3 separate regions of the Homo sapiens genome follow, and all the other regions are linked to region 2. The links are contacts of gene promoters, found by promoter capture Hi-C in blood cells and fetal thymus (Javierre and others, 2016). All regions are on one chromosome and are shown on one strand. The core of a region is centred on a gene start or on the middle of the fragment in contact, and the rest is flanking DNA. Distances in the headings are between cores, read along the strand shown.

Region 1 (2,700 bases), core at 16-2,515, 950 kb before region 2:
AATCAAAGTGATGACGTCTACATTCAGCCAAGTGTGGCCATCTGGGAACATGACCCCAGCTACATCGGTTCCTTTAGACACACCCCTAAAGCCCTGAATCAACAGAAGGACCCCAGTGAAGAGGGTGCAGGACTCTTCCAAAGGAGACAAGTTCAAGATGCTCCCTCCACACCAGTGCAGCAGACAGAGACCATGGGGGTAGTCAACAGGGTCGGCCTGTGCTGGCAGTGGCACTGCCCCCATAGGTAGTTTGGAAACAGTATTCTGGAAGAGAATAAAATGAGGCACATTGGCCTTTGTGGCTTCCTCTATTTAAAATGGGTTTGATAGAAAGCAAAAGAGAAAAATGAAAAATGTTATTTTGATGTTTAGTGTCATATTGACATACTATGAATCTTACACATCTATCATTCAATGATATTTAATGTTGTGACATTTAAGATAAACATTTATACTAGTTCCTAGTGTGAACTCTCTAGGATATTTTCCAAATATCAGAGAAAGCTTTCTTGAAGTTAATCTCCCACAGGGGATTATTTTTTTTTAAAACAGTATTTTCAACTACAGCTGGTCTAAGGCCTTTTGTTCATTCCAAACACACAGAAAGACAGAGTCATGCAGTCAATATACAGGTTTTTCCATCAATTTAACAAATAAATAAATTGAGAATGGACTACGAACATCCAGCATGATGCCTAAATACTTACAATTTAAAAAGATAGCCATGAAGCGGCAAATCTCTTTCTAAAGCTACCTTCAGTGCGGTAAAAATGGGTTGTGCCTAAATATACATTCAAAAGGTGTTTACCTGATTTACCTGACTCACAGTGAAGCAAGAGGTTTGCAGACCTGAACTGCAGGGAGATTCAACCCTGCTGATGGCGGCCCACCTTCCACTTGGCCTGGGCCATGATGGTGGCAGTGAGAAGTCAGCTGGCTGGATGCAGGTCCCAGGAGTTCAGAGACTGAGCTCCTTGAAGGATAGTGGGTGACCAGGCTGGGCCATGCAAAAGGCCTGAATCTTCTGGCTTAGGAGTCAGCCAAAGTCCCCAGATAACCATAAAGCAACTAACTACCATGGCCTCCTTTCTGAGTCCAGCCATTGAGGGTGCCATGGACCCTCCAATCTGTGTCCTCTGCCCCAGCCCCTTGGAGGAAAAAGCCATTCCCTCAAGTAGCCCTCCCCCTATTGCCTTCTACAACCTACAGTAGTTTAGTAGACTGTCCTGCTCCCCAAGCCAGTCACCCCAGAACAGATATCAGCTGGTTGATCAACAGAGACAGTTAAAGTGAGGATTAAGTATTTATCATAATCAGTATTATTTGTAAAATTAGAATATATTATGATATAGTAAATATTCACTTACTTGTATACATGTTTGTATACACACACACACACACACACATACATGAATATACATGTAACCTAACTGTATTATTTTAATTGCCATTTCTCTATTTGGTCATCTTTGAGGGTGGGCCTACAGAATCCAAGCCCTTTCATCTTATCTTTCTTCTGTTAATTGCATCTCAGTATGCTGCCTACAATTGTTCAAGTTCACAGTTACTTGTAAATATTCTATGCAAGTCTCCCCAAGTGTAGCAGCAGCCTAGATTTTTGTAATTTCCCCTAGTCTTTTAGAATTGTCTTTCTAGACTGTTAGCACTTCTCTCTCATCATTGTGGTCACATCTTCCTGGTCCTAAAAAACTCCTTCCTCAGTCCACCCCCTCTTTCTACTCCTGCCTTCTCTCTTTTCTCCTGTAAACAAGGAAACTCAAGTCTTCTGTCCTGTCTCCACCACCTCACCAACCACTCACTCCTCAACTTCACTTACTGAAACATGCTTTCTAATGAATAATGGAGCAGAGTCAATGCTGGTAAGAAGATACGTTACATTAAATATAATGTCCATGGATTTGGGATCCTGATTGAAAAATGACTTCAAGAAGATAAAACTTACCGCTCATCTGGATAACAGTTAAAACATCCAAAACAGGAATACATGGTACTCCGTAAGGAAAGACAAAGCTTGAAGCAACAAAGACTTCATGACTCAAACACCAAAAGCAATGGCAACAAAAGCCAAAGTAGACAAATGGGATCTAATTAAACTAAGGAGCTTCTGCACAGCAAAAGAAACTACCATCAGAGTGAACAGGCAACCTACAGAATGGGAAAAAATTTTTGCAATCTACCCATCTGACAAAGGGCTAATATCCAGAATCTACAAAGAACTCAAACAAATATACAAGAAAAAAACAAACAAGCTCATCAAAAAGTGTGTAAAGGATATGAACAGATACTTCTCAAAAGAAGACACCTATGCAGCCAACAGACACATGAAAAAATGCTCATCATCACTGGTCATCAGAGAAATGCAAATCAAAACCACAATGAGATACCATCTCACACCAGTTAGATTGGCAATCATTAAAAAGTCAGGAAGGAATAGATGCTGGAGAGGATGTGGAGAAATAGGAATGCTTTTACACTGTTGCTGGGAGTGTAGACTAGTTCAACCATTGTGGAAGACAGTGTGGCAATTCCTCAAGGATCTAGCACTAGAATTACCATTTGACCCAGCCATCCCATTACTGGGTATATACCCAAAGGATTATAAATCATGCTGCTATAAAGACACATGCACACATATGTTTATTACAGCACTCTTCACAATAGCAAAGACTTGGAACCAAC
Region 2 (2,700 bases), core at 36-2,535:
TTCTCGTTGTTTGGCTCCTGAAAGTAACGATAAATAATTGCATTTAGTGCGATCGGTGTCAGGCGCGGCCACCACGCTCGGTCCCCCTCCGCGACCGAGGCTCTCGGCCTCACACATGGCAGGATTCCTAGCTCGAAGCAGCGCGGTGATGTCACTTTCCTGCTGGAAGCCCAGCGTTCTCCTCGCCCCGAGTAAGTCCGAGGGCGCAGAGAAGTTGCCCAGCCCTCGGCGGTCCCGGGCGGCCGCACGTGGCGGCGGCGGGGTGGCCTGGCGGAGCCGAGCCCGCCGCCTAGGGGGGCACTCGAACCCCCGCGCACCGGCACCGCCTGCCTCCCGCTTCTAGAAAGAGAGAGGGTGTGATCGTGTGTTTGCACTTACTTTCTCTTTCTCCACAAAGTCCACAAAAGCGGTCCTTTCAATCTCCACCGGCTGCCCCTGCCTATCGTAGAGCGCCAGCACGAAGTGGAAGAAATTGGATTTCCGGAGGTTGGAAGGCGGCTGCTTCTCGAAGTGCGCCCGCGCCAGCCCCACGCCGCTGCGGGAGGAAAGAGACAGCGGCCCGGTGAGGAGCGCGGCGCCGGCCGGCGGAGGGGGCCGGGCCGGGCCGGGGCCGGGGCCAGGGCGCGCGGGGGCGGCCGGTACGTACCTCTGGGCGGCCGTGTTGGCGTCCACCACGCCCGCCGTGTGCATCCACGAGCGCACCGGGTTCATGCCGCTGCCCAGCGGCTCCTCCTTCATGGTCGTCCCCCCGCGCGGAATATTCTCCTGAATCCCAAACATGAAAACTGCTGGCGGCGGCCGCAGCTCCCGGCCGAAAGCGTTTCCTCGAGCAGCGGCGCTCGGGGCTTGGCGGCAGGCGGCTGCCCTGGCCGCCCTCGCCCTGCTCGGCGCCTGCGGTCCGGCCCCGCCGCCGGCTTCAGCCCGTCCCGGGCAGGCGCGACATACACCAGCGGCCGGGCGCTCCGGACGGCCAGGGGCGCGGAGGCGGCTCCACCGGCGGCGGCGGCGCTTCGAAGGAGCAGGACGCGGTGGCCGCGGCGGCGCTTGTTGTTGTTGTTGTTTGCAGGCGCGCTCAACGTGGTGTCATCCTAGCCAGGCGGCGTCCGCGGCTGCAGGACACTGCGGGATCGCCCGCTTCTGGCGCGGCCCGCCTGCTCCAAAGACAAATAAACGGGGCAGTGAGTGCTGCGGCGCAGTCCCGGGCGCAGGCGGGGCGCGGCGGGGCCTGGAGCGGCGCGCGCAGCGGACGGAGGCGCACAAAACTCAGCCCTCTCTCCCCGAGGAATGGACCCTTTCCCGGGAGCCAAAACTCGAAGCCCCCGGGAGCGGCGCTGTCAGAGGGTGACGTCGGGGGGCGGTGCCTGCGCCATATATGGGAGCGGCCGCCCCTCGCCGCGCCCCTCGCCGCCGCCGCCGCCGCGCTCGCCGACTGACTGCCTGACGGCGCCGCGAGCCGGCCCGAGCCCCGCGAGCCCCGCGAGCCCCGCCGCCGCCGAGCGCCACCGAGCGCCGCCGCCGCCCCCCGCCACGCACCGCGGCTCCTCGCGTCCAGCCGCGGCCAAGGAAGTTACTACTCGCCCAAATAAATCTTGAAAAGAAACAAACGCAGCCACTGCACAATTGCAGTTTGGCCCCTTAATACCTCCCTGCAAAACCTGCCACACAGTCGAACACGATGGGCGGGGCGGGGGGCTGTAAAATGCTGAGGCGCCCCAAGTTGCCCAGATGCATGCAATAAATGCAAGGGGCTGCAGCTTGTCCTGGGGCCGCCCGAAGGAGAAGTGGGAAGAGGCAGGTCGACCGCAGGGAGGGCGCCGGAGGGAGGAGCGGGCAACGGACTGGGAGGAGGGGTGCCCAGGGCTCCCCGGCCAAGGCTGGACGCGCAGCTCAGCCTGATTTCTAAGCAGACCTAAGGCTGCTGCAGGGCCGGCCGGTCCCGGTCTGAGCCCCGCCAGGTACCCCAAGCTTCCTACCCCGGCGGAGGCCGCCGAGTGCCGGGCAGGGAATCACGTCGGAGGCAGGGTCTGCCAGATGCTCCCTCTCCCCCGGTGGCCGCGGCAGACCCCGGCCCCTGGCCTGTTCTTACGCACAGCGAGTGACAAAGAAGGCTCCGGTCTCTCCGGGCCGACGGGAAGCGCGCCCGGCCTCTCCGGCGACCCGGAGCCGGGTGTCTGGCTGCGCGACCTGCGCGGTGGCCAGACCGCCCTGGAGCCAACTGCTCCAAAAACCAAGCGGACGCCGCGGGCGCTGTGGCCCGGCCCTCGGAGCCGCCGGACCCGGGTGAGCGCGCGGCGCGCGGCTTCCCGACCTGGTTTCTAGGAATCGGGAGGGCAGCCGGGCGCGGGCAGACTGTGGGCCCCGCGGCCCAGCTCCTGTAGCCGGGACTCCGCGCCCAGGAGCGCGGCCCGCCCAAAGGACGTCTGCGCGACACGGAGCAGAGACCCAGGGGACGACCAGGAACTGTCCTAGGCACTTCCCTGCCAAGAGAAATCAGGCCCTTTTGATTAAAAGAAAAAAAAAAAAAAGATTGCAGGGCGCAAGTGTGTTGCAGGGCAGCCTCCTCCCGCCGGGTCTGGGGCAGCACTCCCTTTTCCCGTGAATTGGCAGCGTGTGTACGTTAATATTTTAATTAATCGGGAAAGTCGAAGTCCGATTCACGTTGTCTGGGGACCCCCACGCCTCTTGGAAGGAGTGAGAAAA
Region 3 (2,700 bases), core at 119-2,618, 910 kb before region 2:
CCACCACATGAACCTTAAGGGAACACATGGGGAACACCCAGGTCAAATCATGGAACAAGGTGATATGTGGGTAACTCATTATTTTTAACTAAAAGGCTTTGTTTGGGGAGCAGTTTTAGGGTAACAGAACAATGAAGCAGAGGGGACAGAGGGTTACCATATGCCCTCTCAGCCTGCCCGTCCATGTACCCCCAGAGGTTCCCTGAAGATGAGGACCTTGCATTGGCTGGTATATTTGTTACAATTGATGAGCCAATGCTGATTCATTATTATTAACCAAGTCCACAGTTTACATTAGGGTTTGCTGCCTGTGCTGTATATTCTGTGGATTTTGACAAATCATAATGTCATGAATCCACCACCACAGTAACACATGCAGGAGAGTTTTCTGGCCCTAAAATTCCCCTTTGCTCTCTCTCCCTCCCATCCAGTTCCTGGCAAACACTGATGATGTCTGATTTTATAAAACACTGTCAGAGTGCTTAACATGTACCAAGGACATTCTGAGGCCATTATTTGCATGACTTTATCCACCTTCATAACAATCTGTAAGGAAGTTATTATTCTAATCTTCATTTTTAAATGAGGATCGAGGCACAGAGAGTGTGTGACTTGCCTGCGGTCACACAGCTGGTGAAGGGCTGCAATGAAACCCACCATCTGGCCCCAGTCCTTGCTCTTCCCACCGTGCTGTAGGGGCAGATGGGGGTCCAGCTGTGAGTTATGAATGAGCATGGGGCGGGGCAGTGGAGACATTATCCAACACGGTTCTGTGCTGCCAAAGACGAAGGGTGTCAGGTTAAAAAAAGATTACAAGGTAGACCAAAAATAACAATGCCCATTATCCGACAACCATTTCTCTTAGGACATAGACCTGATGCCAGAGAGTGTCAAAAAGAGCAAAGGACTGAGCACTTGCCATGCACTGCACCCTGCTCAAAGCCTCTGATCTTAATTATCTCATGTGACCCTCAAAACAACCCCAAGAAAGCAGCACCAGAATCATCCCAGCATCGTCCCACTTTACAGACGAGCACACTCCACACTAGAATGCTTCTGTGAGTTGCCGAATCTGAACACCTGGCGAATCCAGGGCTGGGATTTGAACCCAGAGGTGTCCCTCCTGGCCCATGCTCCAGCCCCTTTGCTCTGTCAGACATGGACTAAACTGAGCCGTGAGCCGTGAGCTGTGAGCCATTCCAGCTGGGGCTGTCATGATCTGTGCAGGTCACTCGACCTCTCTGGGCCACATTTGCAAAAGGTTTCTGTGGGTCATTCCAACCCTCAGATTGGAGTCCTCTTTCAATCCATGATGCTAAATTTCCATGTGCATAAAATACATGGATTATTGGTGCAGCTCTAGCCTGAACACTGAAAACCTTGGTTCTTCTTTGCAAAAAAGCATCAGGTGTGACCTGAGCCCAGGGAGTCAGCCCTCACCAGGGCTCCTGTGGGGTAGAGCCTGGCTGGCCACTGGCTTCCATGGGGTCCCACCAACGCCAATTGGCCATGAAGACAGGGCTAGGATGCAGGCAGAGCAGGGCCAGGACCTCCCCTGACTGGGGCCATCTCAGTGCCTGCCCTGGTGGGTCACAGGTCCCTCCACTGGCTGCTGTTACCGGGGAGGAGGCTGACACAGACCGGACCTCCTGGAGCAGTTCCACCAGGTAGGGACCGGCCACAGGAAGGGGTCAGGCCATTGCTCTTATAGAAATTGTTCAGGGAGAAGCACTAGACCTTAAACAGGGCGCTTCAAGTGATGGGGGCATTGCTGTGGCCTTAGGCCCAGCCATCTACATGTGAGGAGATGAATAGGTCTTGGCCTGTTGGGTGATGGGGAGCAGGAAGCTGGTGCTGCCTGGCTTCCCAGCTGGGTAAAGTCTCCATCACCCTGTCTGTAAAATGTCCAGGTTCTCCCAGAGAATGGTGGCTCCCTCTGTCCGAGCCAGTTGGCGAGCAGAGCCCCTACAGTAACTCCCAGGCCCACGTCCTCATCAGGACCTGGAGTCCAGGCTGCTGCCTACTTATTTCGGAGACTATGCAGCAGCCATGATTCTCAGCCTCAGGAATTAACCCTGTTTTCAAGGTTGTTCGCTGTCCATCCCCTCACCTGCTCCCTACCTGATCTGATCCTGTCTCCCCAGCCCATCCTCTCCAAAGCCTTTCAAGTTTGAAGTCAGCTGCACTGATGGGTCACACCTGAGTTCCAACTGCCCAGCCATCAGGAGATGGATCTGGCCTGGGTCCTTGCAGTTCCTTCCTTGTATGAGCATGACAGCCTCAGTGCAGAGGTCCCTGTGAGGAGGGTAGCTGCCCCCAGTACCCAGCCCTGTGAGGAGAGGTAGCTGGCCCCAACACCCAGAGAGCTGTCACTGTCACGTGGGGAGAGGTGGCAGCTCCAAGAGTTGAACTGGGACTGGCGAAGGGAGTGGAGGAAGCTCATGAGTAAGGTGGACTGCCCAGCCAGCAGGCATGGTCAGAATGGTGTTTCATGAGTTCTTTCTAACTGGATGGTGGTGGAGAAAGAAATGGGCTGCCCCAGCACTCAGAGGTTCCTGGTGGCTCCAAGAATGAGTCATAAACAGGTGGACCATACATCCTTTCATTCAAACACTCATTGAAAACACACTTTCCAAAGACATGGAATCAACCCCAATGTCCATCAGTGATAAATTGGATAAGAAAATATGGTACATATAC

The links. Contacts are between HindIII fragments. The CHiCAGO score rates a contact against its expected background, and 5 or more counts as called.
Region 1: a contact is called between a fragment that was not itself captured here and the fragment with the promoter of EBF3 in region 2, in 5 of 17 cell types (naive CD8 T cells, megakaryocytes, naive CD4 T cells and 2 more). The highest score is 8.8, in naive CD8 T cells.
Region 3: a contact is called between a fragment that was not itself captured here and the fragment with the promoter of EBF3 in region 2, in 1 of 17 cell types (endothelial precursors). The highest score is 6.1, in endothelial precursors.

The regions. Positions count from the first base shown.
Region 1 is chr10:129,012,710-129,015,409 of GRCh38, forward strand. No RefSeq gene overlaps it. Among named protein-coding and RNA genes, the nearest start is that of LINC02667, 100 kb to the left of the region's middle. The HindIII fragment of the contact is 1,527 bases long and covers 503-2,029 here.
Region 2 is chr10:129,962,989-129,965,688 of GRCh38, forward strand. EBF3 (EBF transcription factor 3) reads right to left here and starts at 1,286. Exons shown (of 17, transcript NM_001375380.1): 1 at 647-1,286; 2 at 379-535; 3 at 1-17. The coding sequence starts at 780. RefSeq lists an enhancer at 1,413-2,384. The HindIII fragment of the contact is 12,336 bases long and covers 1-1,963 here.
Region 3 is chr10:129,049,008-129,051,707 of GRCh38, forward strand. No RefSeq gene overlaps it. Among named protein-coding and RNA genes, the nearest start is that of LINC02667, 140 kb to the left of the region's middle. The HindIII fragment of the contact is 3,922 bases long and covers 1-2,700 here.